Linked DNA regions of Homo sapiens: region 1 is linked to region 2. The links are contacts of gene promoters, found by promoter capture Hi-C in blood cells and fetal thymus (Javierre and others, 2016). All regions are on one chromosome and are shown on one strand. The core of a region is centred on a gene start or on the middle of the fragment in contact, and the rest is flanking DNA. Distances in the headings are between cores, read along the strand shown.

What was found. Contacts are between HindIII fragments. The CHiCAGO score rates a contact against its expected background, and 5 or more counts as called.
Region 1: a fragment that was not itself captured here is called in contact with the fragment with the promoter of RAB32 in region 2 in 1 of 17 cell types (endothelial precursors); the score reaches 9.7 in endothelial precursors.

Annotation. Positions count from the first base shown.
Region 1 is chr6:146,026,748-146,033,497 of GRCh38, reverse strand. It overlaps GRM1 (glutamate metabotropic receptor 1), which reads right to left and starts at 4,436. Exons shown (of 8, transcript NM_001278064.2): 1 at 3,281-4,436. The coding sequence starts at 3,980. RefSeq lists enhancers at 3,617-4,117, 4,118-4,618. The HindIII fragment of the contact is 542 bases long and covers 1,870-2,411 here.
Region 2 is chr6:146,539,156-146,546,013 of GRCh38, reverse strand. RAB32 (RAB32, member RAS oncogene family) reads right to left here and starts at 2,181. Exons shown (of 3, transcript NM_006834.5): 1 at 1,893-2,181. The coding sequence starts at 2,142. RefSeq lists a silencer at 2,228-2,607. The HindIII fragment of the contact is 5,944 bases long and covers 1,320-6,858 here.

The DNA.
Region 1 (6,750 bases), core at 891-3,390, 510 kb after region 2:
TCTTGTAGCTACATACTCAAAGAACATTTTTATTGGACTTGTTCAATGCTTTGAATTTTATTAACTACAGTTATTTTTAAGTACTGTTTTCAAAAATCATTTGAAATAATAAATTTGTTTTTTTGACGGGGAATCTGTATTTTATCAGAAGAACAAAATATAGTGTCCTTGGCTGAGATATTCTTATCAGTGGTAGGCTATTTCTCTACTATATACTTAGCATATTTAAAGACTCACATTCCAGGTAGGCAGCTTGCTCCAAAGTGCATTCAAACTTTATTTGTGGATAAGGCTCCATTACTCCAATATCCTGCCTCCCCCTTGACAGGCTCATCTTAACATTTGCCTCCAGAGCTAATCATGAACAATTTCTGGAGAGTCTATTGCATTGCAGGTAACTTTATGTGTACTGATTTTCTTTCATTTTATGTAAATTGATAATTGTCATGTATCAAGTGTGGTACAAATAATATGATATAAGATTGAAAAGAATGTAAGAGAATATAAAAACTAAATTGTAACTGGTTAAAACACAAAACAAAACAGAAAATATCTGCAAGTTTAGCTTCAATATAAAAAAAAGTAATATAAAAACAACTGTACCATTCAAAAACAATATGATTTCAAGATAATCTCACAATTAACTACAGAAATGAAGGTACACTAGTCCAGTCACTTAGTGCTTTTGGTATTAACTATTCTTGGTTAACTTCTAATACAAGAAACGATGATAATGAATTGACTAGGGAATGGCTGATTTGGAAAGGAGAGATGAAGGTCACGAGAGGCCCCAGAATTTCTAAGCCCTAAGTTGCCAATATCCAGACAAACTGGCTTCCTTGCTGAATAGTGCTCAGACGACAGAGACAACCCTGATATGTGGTCTTCTCTGCTATTTGACAGGGAACTGTCACCAATAAGCGACCCCATCAGTCTGAAAGCAGTAAAATTACTAAATGATCCAAGGAAGTGCCTGTAGGCCAGTACACTATGGGGCCCTGAAAAGCAGGAGGGCAAAACCTCAGGAAAAATGAATCTTCAGTGGGACCTTACACAAAATTCCTTTCCAGATAGAAGGAAAGAAATGCAATTTAGTTTTTACAGATGTTACGTTTAATAAGAGAAGTAACTAATTCCCTTTGAGAAGAAACAAGGTATTATATATGAATGGCAAGGTGAATGGTGTAACTGCTTGGTAATAAAATAAACCCCACATATTTCTATGATGCTGTTCTGTGAACACAATGTAGTCTGGAATCAATTACTATAATAGTACGGAGACATTGTCTTTGCCATACAACACCAATCAGAAGGCAGAAAGGAAACATAGTAATCCAAACTAACACATGGGCAAAATTATAATATTAGTCCTTTCGCAGCAAAATTAGTGAAAACATGTTCAATTCATTTTCCAAAAACATAATTCTACTCCTCAGAAAGCAACCCACTATTAGCCACCTCTCACCAAATAAAACAATCTTATAATGAAATATGGAAAATAAAACCACTGTTTAAAAATAATGAAGCATTACTTCTTCCTGAAGAAAGAATTTATACTTCCAATATTAATAATCAATTATCTAGCTCAATGGGGGAAATATTATTAAATATTTAAATAAATCACATTCAATCTAGATTTTGCCATTCTCTTTGCCATCATCTTTGGATCTATCCAATGATGATATTTAACACATTTTAACTTGCTCTTTCAGGATGTTTCATTTAAGCAAGCACTAAAGAAACTATGCTAAACATTAACATGTAGTAAAGTTAAATATTAAAATATAAGGAATTAATACTTTGAGTCTTAAAAAAGTAATGAATTTTTGTTCAAAAAGAGATACGCAGTTCATGATTAAAAATCAAGCTTCAGAAGCATAAGTCAGTTATTATAAAGTTATAATATCACAGCAGATAGTTTTTTCCAAAAGCAAAATCTGAAATTATAATGTGTAATCCTATATCATTTATGTTTGTTCTGAAAATTCTGTTCCCTTTATAAAGTATATGTTTTCAATAATGATAACCATATAATCACTTCACTATGGATGCTGTCAATTTCTATAATCAGACCTCACGCCAGTAACTGAATATTATGGAAATATTAAAAAAACATGGAGCCATGCCTATGGCTTCTTGAAAGTCATTTGAGTTGAAGAAATATGAATACAGAAATACCAGCAAGATTGTCTTCTTCTGCCAGCTTATACATGTGAATTGTCCTAGATGTTAATTTATAACCAGGGCTTCAGCTTTTTCATAAACCTACTGGGGGACTTAAGAGTAGCTGAGCTCAGAAATCCCCTTTTATTAAAAAATGTATATAACCTAAGGTGAAGAGAGTCTAGAAAATCTTTATATAAAAAATTTTTGAAAATTCACATCCATAAGTCTCTGGAAAAATCAAAGCTTTTAACCTTAGGTTAATCTATTGCATTTTAGAAAGACATTATAAACCTAATATCTGCTATCCATTCATTAGTATTTTATAACTGATCTAACTTTAATTCTAATATGTAAGTTCATTGTGTTAGAAGAAAAAAGACTAGAAACCAAAACTCAAATCCAAGTGGTCACCAGTGTTATTTCTCATAAAACAAGATAATTCTTGGGGGAGTGAGGGAATCTGGATGATTTTAGCCTATAAAGTAAGAAGAAAATACATTATTTAAATTACTTACTTTTTCTTTGTAACTAAGGTACTCCAGAAGTAAAAATATAAGTTTCTGATATACTGAGGGAGATGACTGCATTAATCCTACATTCACAGGAAAGTTTTGGATATGTAAGAAGGGGTACAAGAGGACAAAGAAAATCTTCAACTGTTAAAGAAAGATAAAGCTTTGAAGTCCTATTTGTGGAATAGTAACTTCTTTTTGCCAATCACTCACACTGAATTAACTCATTACACCTGGAAAGTCATAGCCAGTCACTGAAGGGCAATATAACACCTTGGACAAATAAGCCTTCCAAACGCAAACTCAAAATATGAGGGCAAACAAGTATTCAAGTCAAATCTACTGCTGGACACTTTGCATGGAAAGTTTGATACCCTTTCAGCTCCTATTATCCTCAGATATTCTATGGGGTACAATTTTCCTACACTATAATTGTAAGGAAATGAGGATAAAAGGCAATGCCTGGGTGGGCAGTACTGAGAAGGGTAAACTCCGTTCCCCACAGTGCTAGAAATAAACAGGAACAATACTATGATCCCAGGAGCACATCATGCATTGCCCTGACTTTCTCAGTACCCTTCTTTCCCAAATATAATGCCTACCTTCCGTGTGGACTGCAGAGACATAGGTCCAATTGTAACGTTTGACTATGTCAAGCATGGCCCTTGCCTGCAAAGTGTCAGAAGGGACAACCCTCAGGAAGTATTTGTACAAAGTTTTGTCACTCAGGTCGATGCTTGTGGCTGAATAAGCGATCTGGGGGATGTCGAAGAGCTGGAGCAGGTTCTGCACTTGAATGGCTACAGAGCTGGAGCCGGGACCGATCACTCCCGCAATGGGCTTCTTAGTCCTGCCTGGGGGGAGGGACTGGCCGTCAGGCAGACACCGGTTGATCCCATCCTTCTCATCTCGAATGGAAATCAGAGAGTCCCTAATGAACTCAATGCTCTGTTCCAGAGCCACGGAAGAGTGCCAGCAGGAGTCCCGGATCTCACTGCCCAGGGTGATGTTGGGCAGGAGGACCGGGTCCGCGTTGATCTTATCCAACGTGTGGAACATGGCCTCCACCCTCTGGATGCCATACTGCTCCCTGATCTCCCCACACTTCCTCTCGGGCACTTTCTCGGCCGGAGGCTGGTGATGGACTGAGAAGAGGGCTCCAATGATGACATCTCCGTCCATTCTGGCCACCGAGCGCTGAGACGACGCTCCTGCCAGCAACACTTTCCTGCCGGGGCTTCTGGGGAGAAGGGACACCTCCAAAAAGATCGCTGGGAAAAAAAACAAAAGGAGCCCGACCATGGTGGTGAGGACGAGGTCCACAGCCTGCCAGCCGCGTTCCCACGCTGGTCCCGCTGCAGGCTCCCGGCGCGCACCCCCAAGACGCCCAGCGCCGCCTCTCCCGGAGTGGTGCCCCTCGCCAACAATGGTCGTCCAAGGCCTTTGCCTCCTCCACCACCGCCTCCTTCCCCTTCGTCTCCTCCTCTGGGTCCTCCACGACCGCCTCTACAAGCTGGAGGCGTTTGTAAGGGAATTCGAGTCCCCGTTCTTCACCGGTAGTGCATCAAGGTAAATTGATCAAGAGTACAGTGGAAGTCGTGTTGGCAGCGGTGAGCTAGATGCTGCTGACAAAAGACAGAGAAAAATCACAACCTTGTCATCAGAGGACCTGTGTTAAAACTCTGGGGTCTATAATGTTAACAGTTGCCTTGTCCGTTTCATTTCGGCACATCCTGATATCGGCTGCAGGAACAGCTTGGAGCGCAGCTGTGGTCACTGAGGAAGGCGGGGTGTCCTGCCCCCTCTGTCCTCACGGGTCCAGGCGGCGCAGAGCCCCGCCAACTCGCCCGCTCCTCCAACCTTAAGTCGTTTCCTGGTCCCCTAAAACCTATCATGCTTTCTAACTTGGAGGGCGGTGGGGAAGGTGAGCAGAGAGGAGGGGAGGAGCTAGGTCCTTCAACCCAAGAGAACTTTCCGGATTGGAAAAGATCAACTTTTTTTCAGAAGAAAATTTGGAAACTCATTGTAAAGGTGGAAGCGCGACTTTAAAATAAACGTAAACAAAGGATGCACCTTTTACTTTAATTTTGAGGGGTTGAAGAAGCCCTGACATAAAATCAGCTGTAAATATAAATTTGCCAGCTTGAAGAAAATCCACATTAGTTACTAAGGCAACGCCTGGTAAAGTCTCCGTATGGAGGAGTTTGGTATGTTTCCCCCGTAAGAAGTCAGGCTTGCTGTGTATGTTCAAGAAGAAGGGGTGCAGATAAGGTAACTTGTTTCCCGCGGTGGGTGGACGGGTTAGGGGGGGTCCTGCGCTTGCTTTGGGGTTTGCATAGTTGCTAGAAAGGGAACGGAGGGGAGCTTCCGGGTTGCTCTCGCCGCGGCAGCCTGAGCCCTGCCGCCTTCAGGACCCTGGACAGTGCTCGGTCCAGCCAGACATTCCCTGGCAGGGCCTGCAAGGGACGCTTTGACCAGTGAGTTGCAATTCCCTGACCCGCTTTGCTCTTTCAACCTCCCTCCTCTGAGTTCTTTACCCATACACACACACACACACACACACACACACACACACACACACACACACTCCCTTCCACTCGAGTCCCCACCGCCCCTCCGCCCTCATTCTCATCACCTTGCACCGCTTGTGCAGGTATATATCCAAACCCACCCGCTTGGGGACAGAGGCGCCAAATCTCAGCCGCCTGCGGGGCTGAAGTTGGCTCCCTCTCCCGTTCCTCCCCTGCTCCTTTTCTCAAGGTGAGAGTCGACGAAAAGGGGGCTATGGGAGCGGGCGAGGAGAGCACAGGAGGTGAGGCAGAAAAAGGAGAAAGAAAACCCAGGCACCCATTGGTCCCGACTCTTCCTGAGGATACAGGACGAAAAGAAATACATAAGCGAGAATGCGCCTGGGACCCGGAGGAAAATCTGATAGACTGGGACTTTGTCTGCCGTTGTGGGTGGGTTTCACCGGAGGAAGTGTCCGCTCACCTGAGTCTGTTTGGAGGACATGGACTTGAGACATACCTGAGTACCTGAGTCGGGGTAGACAGCGCTATGGTCCCGGGGCCAGAGGACCGTGGCCACGCTCGGCTTGCAGACGCCTCAGCTCTAATCCAGACGGTGCAAGGATGCGATCTGGGCTGTACACTAGTGCCCTCTTTCTTCAGCACTATTTTACCGCAAGGGAAAAAGAGGGGGAGGGAAGAAAAAAAAAAACAGGTCACCCAAGGCTTGTCTATTATCTCATGTATAAAAATCAGTCGTTTGATAGAGGGAGGAGGGGAGACAAACTAGGAGGAAGTGGGGAATATTAATTCCTTTACTATATGAGGGGTCGTATAGAAGCTGCCAGATACGTGAATAGTCAGACAATCTGGCCAAAGAAGTGGAGAACTGCCTAGGCTGCTTTGGGGTAGATATCTTTGTATATATATCTCAGGGACTCAAATATATTTTCTCTTTCTGCGAGTAAAGTCCCTACAGAGGGAAACAGAGTGTAAACACATGTACAGACATCTAAAGAAAGGCTCTATTAGTAGATTGCAAGGGAAATCAGGAAGAGGCTGCATAGGGTGGGAGAAGGGAAAGGACAGGCATGCCCATTATGAATTAAGGTATGCCAAATGAAGAGAGACATATTGTGGCTGCATTTTCAGGTCAAGATGTAACTAAATTGAGAATGAGAGTCAGGTCACATGAAAATACTGGAGTGACAAATACTTATCCAAATTCCTCCCAGGCGGCCATCACCTTCCCTACAGGTCTATGGTGTTGCTTCTGACTGTGTGAAAAGCGGAAGTTAAATCACATTCCTCTGGGAACATGTTGGCTGAGCAGAATGTGGCCCGGCTTTTTCAGGGGAAAAGACAAGTGACAGTGTGTCTTTCTACTCTTGTTCAAAGCTTTCTATTTGTGTCATCTGCAGAGCAGAGAGATCAGCTTACGTTGGTCCCTTATGGGTCAGCTTATAATCGCCTTGCTCAGGTCATTATTATATTATGGAATGGTGCCATGTCAGACTGGAGGGGACAAACCACATGAGGCAGTTTCAAATACTCTTCAGTGTGTT
Region 2 (6,858 bases), core at 932-3,431:
AACTATAAACACTTAAAAATCTAGTTACTCATACTGATTTACCAGCAGTGGGACCCAATCGTAGTTTAATAACAAAATGCCATAATTTACATAAAGAGTAAGGCAAGGTCAATCACCCTTGTAAGCAAGGTTTTAAAACCATCTTTGTGAAAAACCTCAGCTATGCTGCAGATTCCTGGAGAATGACCGTCACATGGTAAGGCAACCTTTAGAATCCATGACTTTGTCAAGAAGCAGAAATACTGCTCATTAGGGTTCTGTGCAACGGCAGGAAGTGTTTCGAAAAAACTTCTGGCTTCAAAGATGACTTTTCAAACGAACTTTTGGTTTTTGGTAACAAAAAACAACAACAAAAAGCTGAGTCCCTGGCTGATTACTCCTTTTTTCTGAGCAACTGAGTTGCATACAGTTATTCTCCTGTCTGAGGGACAGAAATGTGCTCTTAAATGAATGAGTTATAGGTTACAATTATTTACTACTCTTTCTTATGTAACAAGCTATAAATGACAAGAGCACTACCTGGCAGACAGACAGTAGACCTGTGATCCCCCCAACCACTCTGCTACCAGCCAGGTAGCTATACCCTCCATGGGCTTCAGTGTAGGGACTGTAGAATGAAGGGTGGCCTCAGGTGTCCTCTAACCCTAAACCAGCTCCCATTCTAATGCTGTACTGCAGACTGTGCTTCTTAACACCTGTAATGATTGAACAGAGTAATTTTCGTACTTTTTTTTTTTTTTTCTGAGATAGGGTCTCACTCTGTTGACCAGGCTGGAGTACAGCAGTGAGAACACAGCTCACTGAAGCCTTGACCTCTCCTAGGGTCAAGTGATCCTCCTGCCTCAGGCTCCTGAGTAGCTGGGACTACAGGCACGCACGACCACACTTGTCTAATTTTTTGTATGTATGTATGTATATATGTATGTATGTATTTTGTAGAGACAGGGTCTCACTAACAGCCCAGGCTGGTCTCGAACTCCTGTGCTCATGCGATCCTCCAGTCTAGGCCTTCCAAAGTGCTGGGATTACAGGCGTGAGCCACTGGCACTTGGCTTGGTACCATTTCTATGAACTTTCCAATAGTTAACATCATCTTTAAAACGCCCACTCCCAACCACCACACCAGGCAAAGTTCAAGTGTTCATAAATCAGAGCAGAGGGAAATGTACCCCCTCAAACAGAACAAATGAAAGCAAATGGCAGAGAAACACTGTATTGAGGAGTGGGGGGGGGGCGGGGGGGGGCGAGGGCACCAGGGATGGGACTAGGTGTTGGTTTAGCAAGAGAGGAAGGGGTGAGTGTAAGGTTTCAGAAAAGCTTTCCCAAATCTTCACGGAGTGTCTGTCCTCGGCTTCCGATGAGAGCAAAGTATTTGAGGAATGGAGTTTCCCTCACAAAGGCCAGTCTCAGAGCCAAGGCGGGTGGTGGAAAATGATCTGGAAAGGAACCTGGCTTTTGGTCTTGGTGGTGTCACTAACTAGGAGTGCAGCTTCGGGTTAAGTCACCCAATCCCTCTGAACTTGAGTTGAGGCTGAGAGGCGCCGGCCCGCTCCAAAGCAGCCTTCTCAACTAGTCCTGGTGTATGTATGATATACTTGCATTATTCAGAGTTCAAACTTCTGGAAAAGGCCCCCTGGCCTCCTCGCCTCCCTTCAGGAGAGCGAGCTCTGGCGTGCAGGACCTGCTCCAACTCCTACTGCCCATCCCATCCTCTGGGCCCCACCGAGTCCAGCCGACCGCGTCCATCGCATCTCGCCCTTGGATTGGGCCTCTCTCTTCTCCTAAAGGTACCCAGGCAGACGAGTTCAGGCAGAAAAGAAAAAGAAAAGAAGCAGAGAGGAGCCAGGCGGCCCGGCGGGGCTCTGGAGTGGGAAACTCGCGGCCGCGCTTACCCGCGATGTCCCACAGCTGCAGGCGCACCAGAGTCCTGCTGTCCCAGTTGAGGACCTTGAGGGCGAAGTCCACCCCGATGGTGGCCCGGTAGTGCTGGGAGAAGAGCTGGTGGACGTAGCGCTTGATGATGCTGGTCTTGCCCACGCCAAGCTCGCCGATCACCAGCACCTTGAAGAGGTGCTCGCGGGTCTCGGGCGCTGGGGCGGCGGCCGCCCCCAGGCCGGGGTCCCCGGCTCCTCCGCCCGCCATGAGCGCTGCGGCTGTCGGGCGCGCCTCGACTCCGAGTCTGGCCCCCTGCCCGGCCTCGCGCTCTGCCGCCGCGCCCCCGGCGGCCGCGGAAACTCCCCCGAGGCCGGCCAGCCCTCCGCCGCGCCCGCTGACGCCGCCTGACCGGTCACAGGACCCAGAACCCGCCAGTGCTCGCGGCCCGGGCGGGGCCAGACGAGGGCAGGGCCGGACGAGGGCAGGGCCTGGCGCCGGCTTGGGGAGGACCCTGCGCGAGGCGGCTCCCGCCCTGCGCCTCTGAAGCCCGGCCGGGCCCAACTGGACTTCCTCTCCCGGGCGGCGCCTCCGAAGCCCGGCCGGGCCCAGCTGGACTTCCTCTCCCGGGCGGCGCCTCCTGGCGGTCGCGGCGCGGAGGGAGGCCCAGACGCCCGCTGGTGGGCCTCCGGGGAGCCGGCCTGGAGCCTTTATGGGCCCCGGAGGTTCACTGGGGGCCTGAGGAGGCGCCGAGGTCGCTGAGCCCCCCCCGGGGCCGGGGTCGGCGTGGGGTCCGGGCCCAGCCTGGAAGCCTCTGGCCTGGAAATCCACCTCCTGCCCTACTCTCCCCGCAGGGAGAGCCACACTTGCGGGCCTTGGCTTGGGTCGCGAGCAGTCCCCTTTAGATGGGAAAGGAAGTGGCACCGTGACTTTGAACTTAACGAAGGACGGATAACACTGGGCTGGTAGTTCTGTTTTTAACTTTTTGAGTGAACCTCCGTAGGGTTTTCCATAATGGCTGTTCCAGTCCGCATTCCCACCACCAGTGTACAAGGTTCCCTTTGCTCCGCACATCACCGACACTTATTATCGCTTATCTTTTTTATAACAGTCATCCTAGCAGGTGTGAGGAGATACCTAGTGGCTTTTCCCTGTTCATTAGTGATTTTGAGCGCCTTTTCTTATACCTGTTGGCAATTTGTACTTCCTCTGGAAAAAAAAAAAAAGTCCATTCACATCCTTTGCCCGTTAGTTAACTGGGTGTTTTATTTATTTATTTTGGCTGAGTTCTGTGAACGTAATGTATTTTGGATATTAACCCCTTATCAGATATATGGCTCACAAATATTTTCTCCCAATCTATAGGCTGTTTTTTCATTTTGTTGATTATTTCCTATGCGGTGCAGAAGCATTTTAGTTGGATGAAGTCCCATTTATCTAGGTTTGCTTTGGTTGCCTGGGCTTTTGGTGTGATATTGCAAAAATCGTTGCTAAAGCCAGTGACCCAGCTATCCCTCTTCTGGGTGTATACTCAAAGGAAATGAAATCAGGATCTCAGAAATCGCTCTCAAGTTCATGCAGCATTATTCACAGTTGCGAAGATTTGGAAACAACCAAAGTGTCTGTTAACGATGAATGGATAAAGAAATTGTAATACATACATAGGCATGCACGCGCGCATATACACAGACGCACACACACACACAATGGAATATCATTCAGCCTTTAGAAGGCGATCCTGACATTTGCAACAACATGGATAAACCTGGAGGACATTATGCTAAGCGAAATAAGCCAGACACAAAAAGAAAGATACTGTGCAATATCACTTATATGTGGAATCTTAAACACACACACACACACACACACACACACGGAATACGTGGAAACAGTGGTGGTTACCAGGGGCAGGGAAGAAACGGAATGATGCAGGTCAAAGTGTACAAAGTTGCAGTTATATAGGATGAATGAGTCCTAATGATCTAATGTAGCATGAGCGTTATAGTTAATAATATTGTATTTTAAACTGGAAATTTGCTAAGAGAGTAGACTGTAAGTGCTGTTACCATTAAAAAAAAATTGCAGCCAGGTGTGGTGGCACCCACCTGTAGTCCCAGCTACCCAGAAGACTGAGGTGGGACGACTACCTGAGCCTGGGAGGTCCAGGCTTCAGTGAGCTTAATCGCACCACTGTATTCCACCTGGGCGACAGAGTGAGACCATCTCAAAAAAAAAAAAAAAAAAAAAGAAAAGAAAAAATGAAAAGAAAAAATTGTGTAACTATGTGAGATGATGGACATGTTAATTTGTTAATTTGCTTAACTCTAGTAACTATTTCACTATGTATATCAAAGCATCATGCCGTATACCTTAGATATAGATATATATATATATACACACACACACAACAAAATAGTCTATTAAAAACCTTATCATGCTTTAGCATTTAAATTATGGAAGGAGTTTGAGAAAGAAGACACAGGGACTCTGAAGCCATCTTACTTTACTTCCCTAACAATCCTTTTTCAACCTTCATCTGGTAGTGTTTGGATTAGATGTAAATGCTCTAAGATAAATCATAGGAAATTGATTGGAAAGTAGTAGACTTGTGGGTTTTTATTTTAAAGAAGAAACATGGGGGACAGCCCCTTGCTTTCTCTATCTATAAAGTTGAGGGATGCACCCCATCACCTTAATATTTAGAAACACCTGGAGCTGACATCATCTGGCAGCTTCCTTAAATAAACTAAAGCAGCTGCTTACCCTACTATCCTCACTCTAATTGACAATTATTGAAAAGTGTTTTTCAGAGATGGAGGCGTTTTAAAATTTAGAAGTCAAGGTGGGAGTAAAACCTTTTTCTAGAATAGCTATTGAAAAACCACAGATGTGGAAGTACAGCCAACCAGTACATGGCTTTTATGTTCACCCAATTAGAGAGCCCTTCCAAACCCATGTACAGTTTGGGAAAAAAAGGAAATCCTCCAATTTTTGGACAAAGTGCAGCATTTTGTTCCGTACGTATGTAATACCATAGATGTTTTTTTTTATTCGTCCTTCTCTAGCCCTGCTGAATTTCCACTGACTTTAGAGGTAGAATTGTGGTGGTGCTTAAAATTAGAAAAGGTCACTGCTAAAGGCAGGATAAAGTTGTGGATCAACGATTCAAAGACAGGATAAGAGTTTAGATGAGTGGTTTTCAAACTTGAGAGTTCTGGGTTTGTTAAAACAGAGGGGTTCTGATTCAGATCTAGGGTGAGGCAAATAATTTGCATTTCTAACAAGTTCCCAGGAGATGTTGCTGCTAAGTGTCTAGGAGCACAGTGGTTTGGATCAGAATTTGCTTCTCGAACTTAAAAGTTCTTATGTATCTAGTAATACATACCACTTTTTTTTAAATCCATTTATCCTTCCGTAGATATTGAGATTGCTTCCACACTTTGACTATTGTCAATTGTGCTGTATTGAACATTTGGGTGCTAATATCTCTTCAAGATTCTGATTTTCATTCTTTTGGAGAAATACCTGGAAGTGGGATTGCTGGATCATATGGTGGTTCCATTTTTAATTTTTTGAGAAATCTCCATATTATTTTCTATAGTGGCTGCACCATTTTGCATTCTCATCACCAGTATACAAGCGTTCAATTTTCTCTGCATCTCTACCAACACTTGTTGTCTTTTAAAAAATATAATAGCCATCCTTATATAATGGAATATTATTCCACCTTAAAAATAAGGAATTTCCACAATATGCAACAACATGGATGAACCTCAAAGACGTTATGCCGAGTGAAATAAGCCAGTCACAATAGGAAGAATTCTGCATGAATCCACTTATATAAGGTATCTAAAATAGCCAAACTCAGAAAATCAGGAAGGAGAATGGTGGTTTTCAGGGTCTGGAGTCAGGGAGAAAAGGGAAATTGCTAATTTCAATTATGCAAGATGAATAAGTTCTAGAGATCTGCTGCACCACATTGTGCCTACAGTTAACAATAGTCTTGCACACTTAAACATTTAAGAAAGTAAATTTTATGTTGTGTTCTTACTACAATACAATTATTAAAGTTCACATAAATTATGTAGGATCTTAGAAAAGTTTAAATTCTGATTCAGCATATCTGGGATGGAACCTGAAATTCAAAATTTCTAACAAGTTTCTAGGTGATGTCAATGCTGTTGGTAGACCACACTTTTGTTAGCAAGGTGTGATGGTTAATATTTAATGTCAACTTGATTGGATTGAAGGATGCAAAGTATTGTTCATGGGTGTGTCTGTGAGGGTGTTGCCAAAGGAGATTAACACTTGTGTCAGTGGACTGGGAGAGGAAGACCCACCCTCAACCTTGGTGGGCACCATCTATTCAGCTGCCAGTGTGGCTAGAATTAAAGCAGGCAGAGGAATGTGGACGGACTAGTCTTCCAGTGTTCATCTTTCTCCTGTGCTGGATACTTCCTGCCCTTGAACATCAGACTCCAAGTTCTTCAGCTTTTGGACTCTTGGACTTACACCAGTGGTTTGCCAGGGGCTCTTAGGCCTTCAGCCACAGATTGGCAGCTGCACTGTTGGCTTCCCTACTTTTGAGGTTCAAGGACTCAGACTGGCTTCCTTGTTCTTCATCTTGCAGATGGCCTACTGTGGGACTTCACCTTGTGATCTTGTGAATGAATACTCCTTAATAAACTCCCCTTTATATATACATCTATCCTATTAGTCCTGTCCCTCTAGAGAACCCTGACTAATACACACGGGTTCAGATTAGAATTCAGTAGTTCCCACATTTGCTGTGTATCTGACTTACCTAGGGAGCTAGCTAGTTAATTAGCCCCGACCTTCTGTTTTAATGTTTTAGAAGGGGATCCCAGGAATCTGTATTAAAACACAAACAAACCTAGATAAGCATGATGCACACACTAAAGAAACCAGACATACATAATACCAAGTACTGTAAGTAAGTGTTGGACAATATCTGCGTGTACAGCC